2 separate regions of the Homo sapiens genome follow, and region 2 is linked to region 1. The links are contacts of gene promoters, found by promoter capture Hi-C in human tissues and cell types (Jung and others, 2019). All regions are on one chromosome and are shown on one strand. Each heading gives the region's core, a stretch centred on a gene start or on the middle of the fragment in contact. The rest is flanking DNA. Distances are from core to core; before and after follow the strand shown. Region 1 holds the start of GABRA4 (gamma-aminobutyric acid type A receptor subunit alpha4). Region 2 overlaps GABRA4 (gamma-aminobutyric acid type A receptor subunit alpha4).

Evidence for each region. Contacts are between HindIII fragments. The study calls those that stand out against the background at their distance.
Region 2: a fragment that was not itself captured here is called in contact with the fragment with the promoter of GABRA4 in region 1 in 1 of the 25 tissues and cell types used here (heart right ventricle).

The regions. Positions count from the first base shown.
Region 1 is chr4:46,991,449-46,995,776 of GRCh38, reverse strand. GABRA4 (gamma-aminobutyric acid type A receptor subunit alpha4) reads left to right here and starts at 2,196. Exons shown (of 9, transcript NM_000809.4): 1 at 2,196-2,438; 2 at 2,831-2,949. The coding sequence starts at 2,353. It also overlaps a transcript of GABRB1 not described here. RefSeq lists an enhancer at 1,740-1,809 and a silencer at 1,971-2,265. The HindIII fragment of the contact is 6,154 bases long and covers 1-3,412 here.
Region 2 is chr4:46,950,286-46,954,613 of GRCh38, reverse strand. All of the region lies in intron 8 of GABRA4 (gamma-aminobutyric acid type A receptor subunit alpha4), which reads left to right. Among named protein-coding and RNA genes, the nearest start is that of GABRA4, 41 kb to the left of the region's middle. The HindIII fragment of the contact is 4,295 bases long and covers 365-4,328 here.

The sequences.
Region 1 (4,328 bases), core at 947-3,446:
TTATTTTGGTTTCTTAATTTTTTGATATGTGTATTTTTAAAATGAAAATTGCAAGGGAAAGTGGTTTAGAAAATACAAATTTAGGTTTTAGAAAGTATAGGAAAAGGCTTACAAATGTAAGGCGGTGGCTTACATCTGTCATACCAGCACTTTGGGAGACAGAGGCAGGAGGATCACTTGAGACCAGGAGTTTGAGGGTAGCCTGGTGACATCGCAGAGCCCCCACATCTCTACAAAAATATAAAAATATATTAACAGAGCATGGTGACACATACCTGTACTTCCAACTACTTAGAAGGCTGAGGTAGAAGGATTGCTTGAGCCCAAAAGGTAGAGGCTGCAGTCACTATGATGGTACCACTGCTCTCCAGCCTGGGCAACAGAGCTAAATTCTCTTTTTAAAAAGGTAGGAAAGTATTAAGATTAGAGAAATAATATAATATGTGGAGAATCTGTGGTGACTAATGCTTTCATGGCATATTTGGAGGATACACTAGTTCTTCCGCTATTTTTCCCAAACGAGAGAGCTTGATAGTCATCCACATTTATAAGATGGATCTGAGAACAAGCAATTCATTGCTTTGTTTAATTGTTCATTCAATAAATATTTATTGACATTCTATGTGCCATGCACTGTAACAGCAGATAAAATAAACACAGATGAGCAAAAATTACCTAGCCCAGGCCCTCAGAGAGACCACAGTCTATGAGAAAAGAATGATAGAGATGGGATTAGGATGAAGTTAACAAATTCCATGAAGAAAGCAGTACAGAATACAGAGCACGGAGCTCTAGCTACTGCCCACGATGAGCACTTTGGGCTTTCCCTTAGAAAGAAAACTTGAATCCAGACGTTTAAAACACACAAAAAAACCAAAACCCCTGTCTAATACAATGCGTTCCCTCTTCATACCCGTCCACTAGTCATCTCAATTTGAACAAATCATCAGAGTTCCGACTAGAACCTAATTGGTGTTTGGTTCCAAGGTATGGGAATTACTTAGCTCATTGATCCATCATATGAAAATTTCCACATGCATCATTACTAATTTGAAAGACGCTTTTCCCCCTTGGAGCCAATAATTAATGTTTCCAAAGATCTATTGGGAATGCTTATCTTTGCTCAGTAAAACAGTAAAGATATGGAGCTTAGTGTTCCCTTTCATGTCACAAGGGAACTAATATTTGTCCCCCTCCATTTTAATTTATGTATCCTTTCTCTCCATACCCCACCTTCTGCCTCTCTCTCTCTCTCTCTCTCTGTCTCTCTCTGTCTCTCTCTCTCTCTCTCTCACACACACACACACACACACATTTTCTCTTTCCCCCCCCACTCTCTCTCCAGCCGTCCTTTCCCCCTACCTAAAGCAGTCAACCTCTGGAAGTAAGTCAACTCCATTCTGAAAAAGAAGAGTGTCGCAAGAAGTGAAAGTGATTTTGACCAGAGGTCGCTTGTCTCCACCTCTCCCCTCCTCTCCAGAAAAGGATGGAGCAGCAAAGCGGAGGGTGTGCGCGTGTCTGGTGGAGGCGGGTAAAGAAATGGGGTGTCTTTAAAGCAATAGCTTAGCAAATACTGGGACTAGAGTGCGGCTCGAGTCCACTTCCCAATAGTTTGGCGAGAGTCCGCCGGGTGAGCTGCAACCCCTGTTACCAGGAAGAATCTTTCTGCTTTCATTGCTCTCCCTACCGCCCCCCATAACACCTGAATGGGAGGGTCTCAAAGGTGGTTTGAGCCCGGACTTGATCCCCTCTCCTCACCACCGCTACCACCCGACGCCCAGCAGTCCCCGTCACCCGCCCTTTCTCCACCTCCAACCTTGACTCTGGGTACAAACAGGTCCTCGCACAACCTGATGACAGAGGAGCTTCATTGGTTAGATCCAAATCCCAGCGGAAGGGAGGGGGCCAGGAGGTAGGAGGACGAACACTGCTGTGGGCGGGGAGCCCACTTGGGGTCGGGGGCTGCGAAGCCGGAGGAGGGGCGAGAGACCCCGTTCCTCATCCCCGGAGTTACAGTCGGAACAAACTTGCCGAGTCTTGCAGCGCAAGCGCGCGGATACGAACCCCAGAACCTTCAGCGCGCGGGCACGAAAGGGTGTGGAGCGGTATACATAGCTCTACATACACATTGAGCGCTGAGCGAGAAAGGAGGGGGCGAGGAAGGCAGGTTCCGCCTCCCCTGGCCCCGTGCACACACACGCCCACCGCGGCTCGGGCTGGCTGAGCGCGGGCGAGTGTGAGCGCGAGTGTGCGCACGCCGCGGGAGCCTCTCTGCCCTCTCCTCGCACCCTGCTCAGGGCATCTGAAGAGCCTGGAAACGTGAACAGGCTTGAAGTATGGCATGTTGCAAAGATGGTTTCTGCCAAGAAGGTACCCGCGATCGCTCTGTCCGCCGGGGTCAGTTTCGCCCTCCTGCGCTTCCTGTGCCTGGCGGTTTGGTGAGTTCTCTGGGGTGCGAGGAGGTGGGCAACGGAAAGTGGAGAAATGGCTAGCTCCGGGACCCCTTTGGCCACTCGCTCCTCCCTGGGTGGACTAGGTCTTCTTATCTCAGCTGTAAGAGCAGGGGCCGAAGCCAGGCTTTTCTGTGACCGCATAGATGCGGAGAGCACCAAGGGCGCAGGATCCAAGAGGCGTGTGGGCACTGGGGGTCTTGCGGCGGGGCGCGCTTTTCCTGACCATTTCTGTCTTCTGCATCCCAACCCCCAACCTCCTCTCCTTTAGCTTGGGGCAAGCGACTCTTTCCCTAGAAAACAAACCTGTTTGCACCTGTTCTCTGATGGATTCTTAAAATAATCTCCTCCGCCCCCGGTTTTTTTTTTTTCGCTTGCAGTTTAAACGAATCCCCAGGACAGAACCAAAAGGAGGAGAAATTGTGCACAGAAAATTTCACCCGCATCCTGGACAGTTTGCTCGATGGTTATGACAACAGGCTGCGTCCTGGATTTGGGGGTATGAACGATTTCAAACGCGCAAGTGTGTCCTGTCTGTCCCTCTCTTGGTCTTCCTGTCTGTCTGTCTGTGGGAATATCATTAGGTATGCCTCACGTGCAAAAATAAATCTCTCTCTCTTTCTATCTCTCCTCTCTTGGTGAGACCTATGACAAGAAGACCGCCTCCACCCGTACTTTCCCATCTCCCTGCCCCCTCAGAAGCTTTGCCTCTCCCCCACACTAATTACCTCCCGGGACCTGACTGCTGGGTGGGGGAGGTTGGAGAGGAAGAGTCAAAAATGGGAACTCTGGGCTCAGCTGCCTGGACGCTCTTCGCTGAGAATAGTTTCCCTGAACCTGGCCACTTCGCTCAGAGCAGGTTGCATTGGAGGCAGCTGAACCGAAGTCCCTCATCCTCCCACGTGTCCATGCCTATGCCAAAACCTTGGCCAATGTTCTACCTGGGACATAAATCTGGGGCATGAAGCTGCCTGCTCTGCTAGAGAACCCAGTCCTTTCCTTTTCTCTTCTACAGCAGGATGCTTTTCTTTTTTCCCTTTCTTTTTTGGTGATGTGTCATTTGCTTTCCTCCTAAGACTTTAAAGTTAGAGATGTTCCAGCTTGCTTTCTTCAACAAAATAAGTATAAAGGACTTAATAGAGGTACATCCATTAACAGCACTGTTGCTGTTTTTCATATTCATATTTCCTTTGCATATATAATGGAAATCTATGTGGCAAGCTTTGCGCTAGGTACTAGGTCCACAGAAATATTAAGATACAATTCTTAACCTCAAACAGCTTCTCAGTCCAGTTCAACGAGGACAAATGACTTGCTAGGGTCCCATTCATAGGTTTGGCCCAGGTCCTTTGATCTCAAAGTCCCTGTTTTTTACAGTACACTGCACTAATTACCCTTCAGCAACTGAGTTGAACAGGATAGAGATTCTGCCTTAAAGGAGCTTACATTCAAGTGGTAACAATAATAACAGCCAGTAATATTGTATTTATTTAATTAAATGTTCACATATACCAGGCATTTTGTAGGCATCACCACTCTGTTTAACCCTCACAACAAAGCTTTGAAAGCCATTACCATCCCCACTTTACAGATAAGGAAATTGAGTCCAAGTTCCAAGTTAGTAAGTAGGAGGAGAAGGATGTAAACCCAGAGCAGGCTGTGTATTTAAAAGACAAAGCCGTGCAGATGGGGATGGTATCAGATGCTGTGTGATGAGTATCATCTAATATTAGAAGCATGGAGCAACTTTATACCTCCTATTGAGGGTGTGTAGGAGATGACATGTTGGGAGAATGGAGAAAGTAAGAATGGGGAGCAGGACTGCCTGTGATGTGAAGTAGGAGTATGGCCTGGGGCTAGAAACTCTTTCTAGCCTTC
Region 2 (4,328 bases), core at 1,263-3,762, 41 kb after region 1:
CATCCATTCTTTGTAACTAATGCAAGTTTGCTCTGCACTCTTTTTTTTTTTTTTTTTGGATGGCGTTTCACTATTGTTGCCCAGGCTGGAGTGCAATGGCACGATTTTGGCTCATTGCAACCTCCACCTCCCGGATTCAAGTGATTCTTCTGCCTCAGCCTCCTGAGTAGCTGGGATTACAGGCGCCTGCCACAATGCCCAACTAATTTTTTGTATTTTTAGTAGAGACAGGGTTTCACCATTTGGCCAGGCTGGTCTCGAACTCCTGACCTCAGGTGATCCACCAGCCTCCGCCTCCCAAAGTGCTGGGATTACAGGAATGAGCCACTGTGCCCGGCTCTTTAACAAGTGCTTACTTTAGTACAAATGATGTATGAAGAGCTGATTAGAGGAAGGATGGCTCTTTGTGGGGTCACTGAGTCAGATCAAATTAAATATTCAGGTTATTTTATACTCACCTCTACAGCAGAAATCTACACTGCTCCAACAGCAATAAAAACATCAATTATACTGTGCTTATTACTTGCTGGAGAATATTTTAAGCACTTCATGTATATTCATATAGCCTTCACAGCAATACTTTTTACAGATGAGAAAATTGAGGCACAGAAAGGTCTAAGTGATTTGCCCAGAATTACATAGCTGTTAAGTAACAGAGACCAGATTTAAACTTGGGGGTCTAGATCCAAAGTGTAGGTTCACAACCACTACAGACTGTTGTCCCTCAGTTATAACCCATCACAACCACTGCTGAACTCTGCTGTGTCCCTGGCCCCATACTTACTCCCCAACTATCCACAATTTTTCTGAAGATTGTCTTAATGTTTACATTGTTAGAAGTGTAAGCCATACTTTGAAACTCTATCCCATTTATATACAAGCCATACCCTTAGTCAGTGGTTTGGTTTACGTAGAAAGCGGTCAGAGAAAATTAATCACATTTTTTAGATCATCTACTTTTCATAAAATACATGTGGATTTTGTCAACTCTAAAAATCACCAATTAATTTTGCACAGTTATTTTAACAAATTGTAGACTAACTAATCCACAGTTTTCCCAAAATGTTGTGACATTTTAAACATTTAGAAAACTTTAGAATATATTACCATTATTTTGATTTGAAATAATCTATTTTATGTGCATCAACATATTCAATTAACAATACTTATTTACAACATCTGTTGTTTTAAAAGTGGGAAAAATTTCCAAGAAGTTTAGGAGGTAGTTTTTGCCCTGAAATACTACATCAGGAGACAGAGTATAGTGATATAAATAATCCAGAGGAACAGACACTGTATTTGGACCAAGGGACACTACAAAGAAGCATGCTGAGCTTTAGGGGGTGAGGGATGCTGGCAGAACTCAGATTGGTGGTGAGGTGTATTTTATTGATCGTCAGCAGATAAAGGAGAGTAGAAAGGATAAGCCAGCTCATTATTATGAATATCATGAGTTGGTTTGTAATGTTTATGGTCTAGCTTAAGAATCATTCTAGAATTGCTATCTAATTTATAAACAATTACCATATTATTGGAATTGTTATTACTTCTCCATTTACTCCGTCACTTCCCCAGCACATCTGGCACATATTTCCTAACACATAGCCAGGTGCTCAAGAAATGCCTGCTGATTGATTTCATTCCTCATATAACTGAGATATAGACATGGTTGCTGGTGATAGCAATATATGAAAAAACTACACATTTCCATTGGTGAAATTTTGTTATTAAAAGGTTTTTTTCTGGTACTTCAATATTTTATTTATTTTATAATCTTTTTTTTCCATTTATATCGCAATGTGAGTGGGCCAGCACTTCTTTTTAGAATGGAAAAAATCAGCTTCAAAAATAAACAACTGCTTTAAACAACTTTCCTCAACATTTAGTTATATTTTCCACCAAGTTCTCATCCCTAAGCTACTGAGTAAGATTATTCATTCCTTCTGGTGTATTTGACTAAGCTGCCAATTTTCCCTTTTGCTATTTTGAGGAGCTAATTTTCCCACAACATAATATACATCGCTAAATCTCCAGCTTTTTGCTCAGCCTCAGATGATTTAGAAGTTTCAAGAAACATCAGTTTGGGTATGACTTATTTTATTTCACTTAAATGAATTAGAGGATATTATGTATGAAAAATGTCTTTGGAAAAAGAAAATTTTTATGTATTTTGATCAATTTTGCAACAGTTTTAGAAAGAGGACACTTTTCACTCAGATTGTATGGCATGGCATGCTTTTCTTAATATTTTCTAGTATTTCAGATGTTACAGGATTTTTTTAGCTTCCTAGATTCTTTACTTGACTAATACATCATGTACTTTCCCAAACTGTCTTTTGCTGCCACGATGAATAATCCTGAATTTTTAACTTCTTAGTTGTTCTGTAAGACTATATTCCTTCTCCCTCAGTCTATAGCTCTTGAATTTGAGTTCAATTTTTATAACTCTGATATCTTCATATCGATGACCAGTATGGAGATTTCTTTATACTCTCTAGTCTCACCAATCCCAAACAATGTAGGCCACTAAATTTTTCTTCTCTCTCAGACTCTCTGTCTCTCTTTTGAGGGTGGGTTGGCTAAAACAAGCTTTTAAAAAATAAATACTTTTAATTGCTTTTTGTTGTCTAATTGCAAACAGTTTTAGGCTTCCTAGTGAGAGAGAAGGCCATTCTTAGGGGATTCACAGAAGCAGTAGTCATGTGGGCACTCTATTTTTGCCTCCCTGAAAAGTTTTTCTAAGTACAGTCAGTTTAATGTGGATATCAAGATACCGCTTGAAAATTATATATATATGTACACACACACACACACACACGTACACACATATATATACACACATATATATACACATACATATACACACACACACATATATATATATAACAAATTTCCTAGTATTTTATTATACATATTAATATTAGGAAAACGGAAGAGCTATAGAGGAAGAAGAAGCCCCACCGTTTAGCACATCTGCACTTTCTCTTTGTCTAGGTCCCTGGCACTTGGAGATTGGGATTGACATCTCCAAAGAGAATTTGGCAAAGAGTGGCAAGGACTCTGTATTCAAAAAGCAGAAAGTCAACTCTTTAATTACAAAGTGGGAATATTACTATCTCCAGCGTAACAAGCTATGAGGACATATGGGTTTAGTTTATTGGGCAGATTTATTTGAAAAGTGTTTTGAAGAGTATGAACTTGAAGACCAATATTTAGTGGCCTGGCACCCAATATTTGTTGATTGAGTCAATGAATGAAAGACTGTATGAATACAATGTAGTCTTTGTAAAATATTAATTATAAATACATAGTATATATTTAATAATATATAAAATATTATTAATATTAACTGGTTAGATAACATAATAACAGTAAAAAGTCCCACAAACCCATTCAACATTGTTAATTAGCTTTTTGAGGGTCACATATAGGTTTTGGATAACTGAAGGAAATCTGTGTAACTCTTCTCTTAACCACAAACGACCTAATTTCTTTGGAACTCACCCATATGAAGCAAGTGCTATTCCTGTATTCCACTGGCTTTTCCTCTGAGCCTTAGTTTTATTATGCCGGTTGTCTCTGTCTCCCAGTGCAGATAGGTATGAGATAGAAAGTAAGAGTCATGCTCAACTCTGCTGGTCAGGGATACCTGGGGCCCCAGTATAGGTTTTCTGGCTATGAGTGAAGGAAGGAATCTAATACTCGCCTGCTCTAATAATAATCAGATACTCTTCTGAGGGCTAGCTTGGCTGGAAGAGCTCTGATAAGGATATCTTGCTTTGAAGGAGTAAAAACGAGATTTTCTTGGAGCTTGAAGCTTCTTGCTTCCCTGGAGAGTAAGCAAGAGCTGGACAAGCATATAGTAATTTATTTATTTATTTATTTATTTATTTATTTTCTTAGAGAATATCATTAGCTTAAAAAAACGTGGGAGGGCAATGATAAGTGGAAGCCTGGGTTAGGCACTTAACTTTCACATGCTGCTTCTTCCATGAAGAAATGAGCCTGAGATTTGTTTTGAGAAAAGCTAAATTTTATTAGGTTGAGCCATTAGAAAATGCCATTTTGCTAGAGAAAAATGGCTTTTAAAGAGGTGGAAAATGGTCTTTTGAAGTAAAGGTGAGGCCCAGCTCTGACATAAAATTGCCTTATTAGTCGCTTCTTTTTAACAGCAAAAGAGATAATTAATAAGAATTTGTCATGAATGATGATAGTGATTTGCATTTTTAAATTCGTTAGGTTATTTGTTTTGAAGACAGAGATTTAGGCTGAGCTGAGAGTATCAAAACCTTGGAGCCGTACTTTGTGTGCCTGGGCCTAATGGGGGC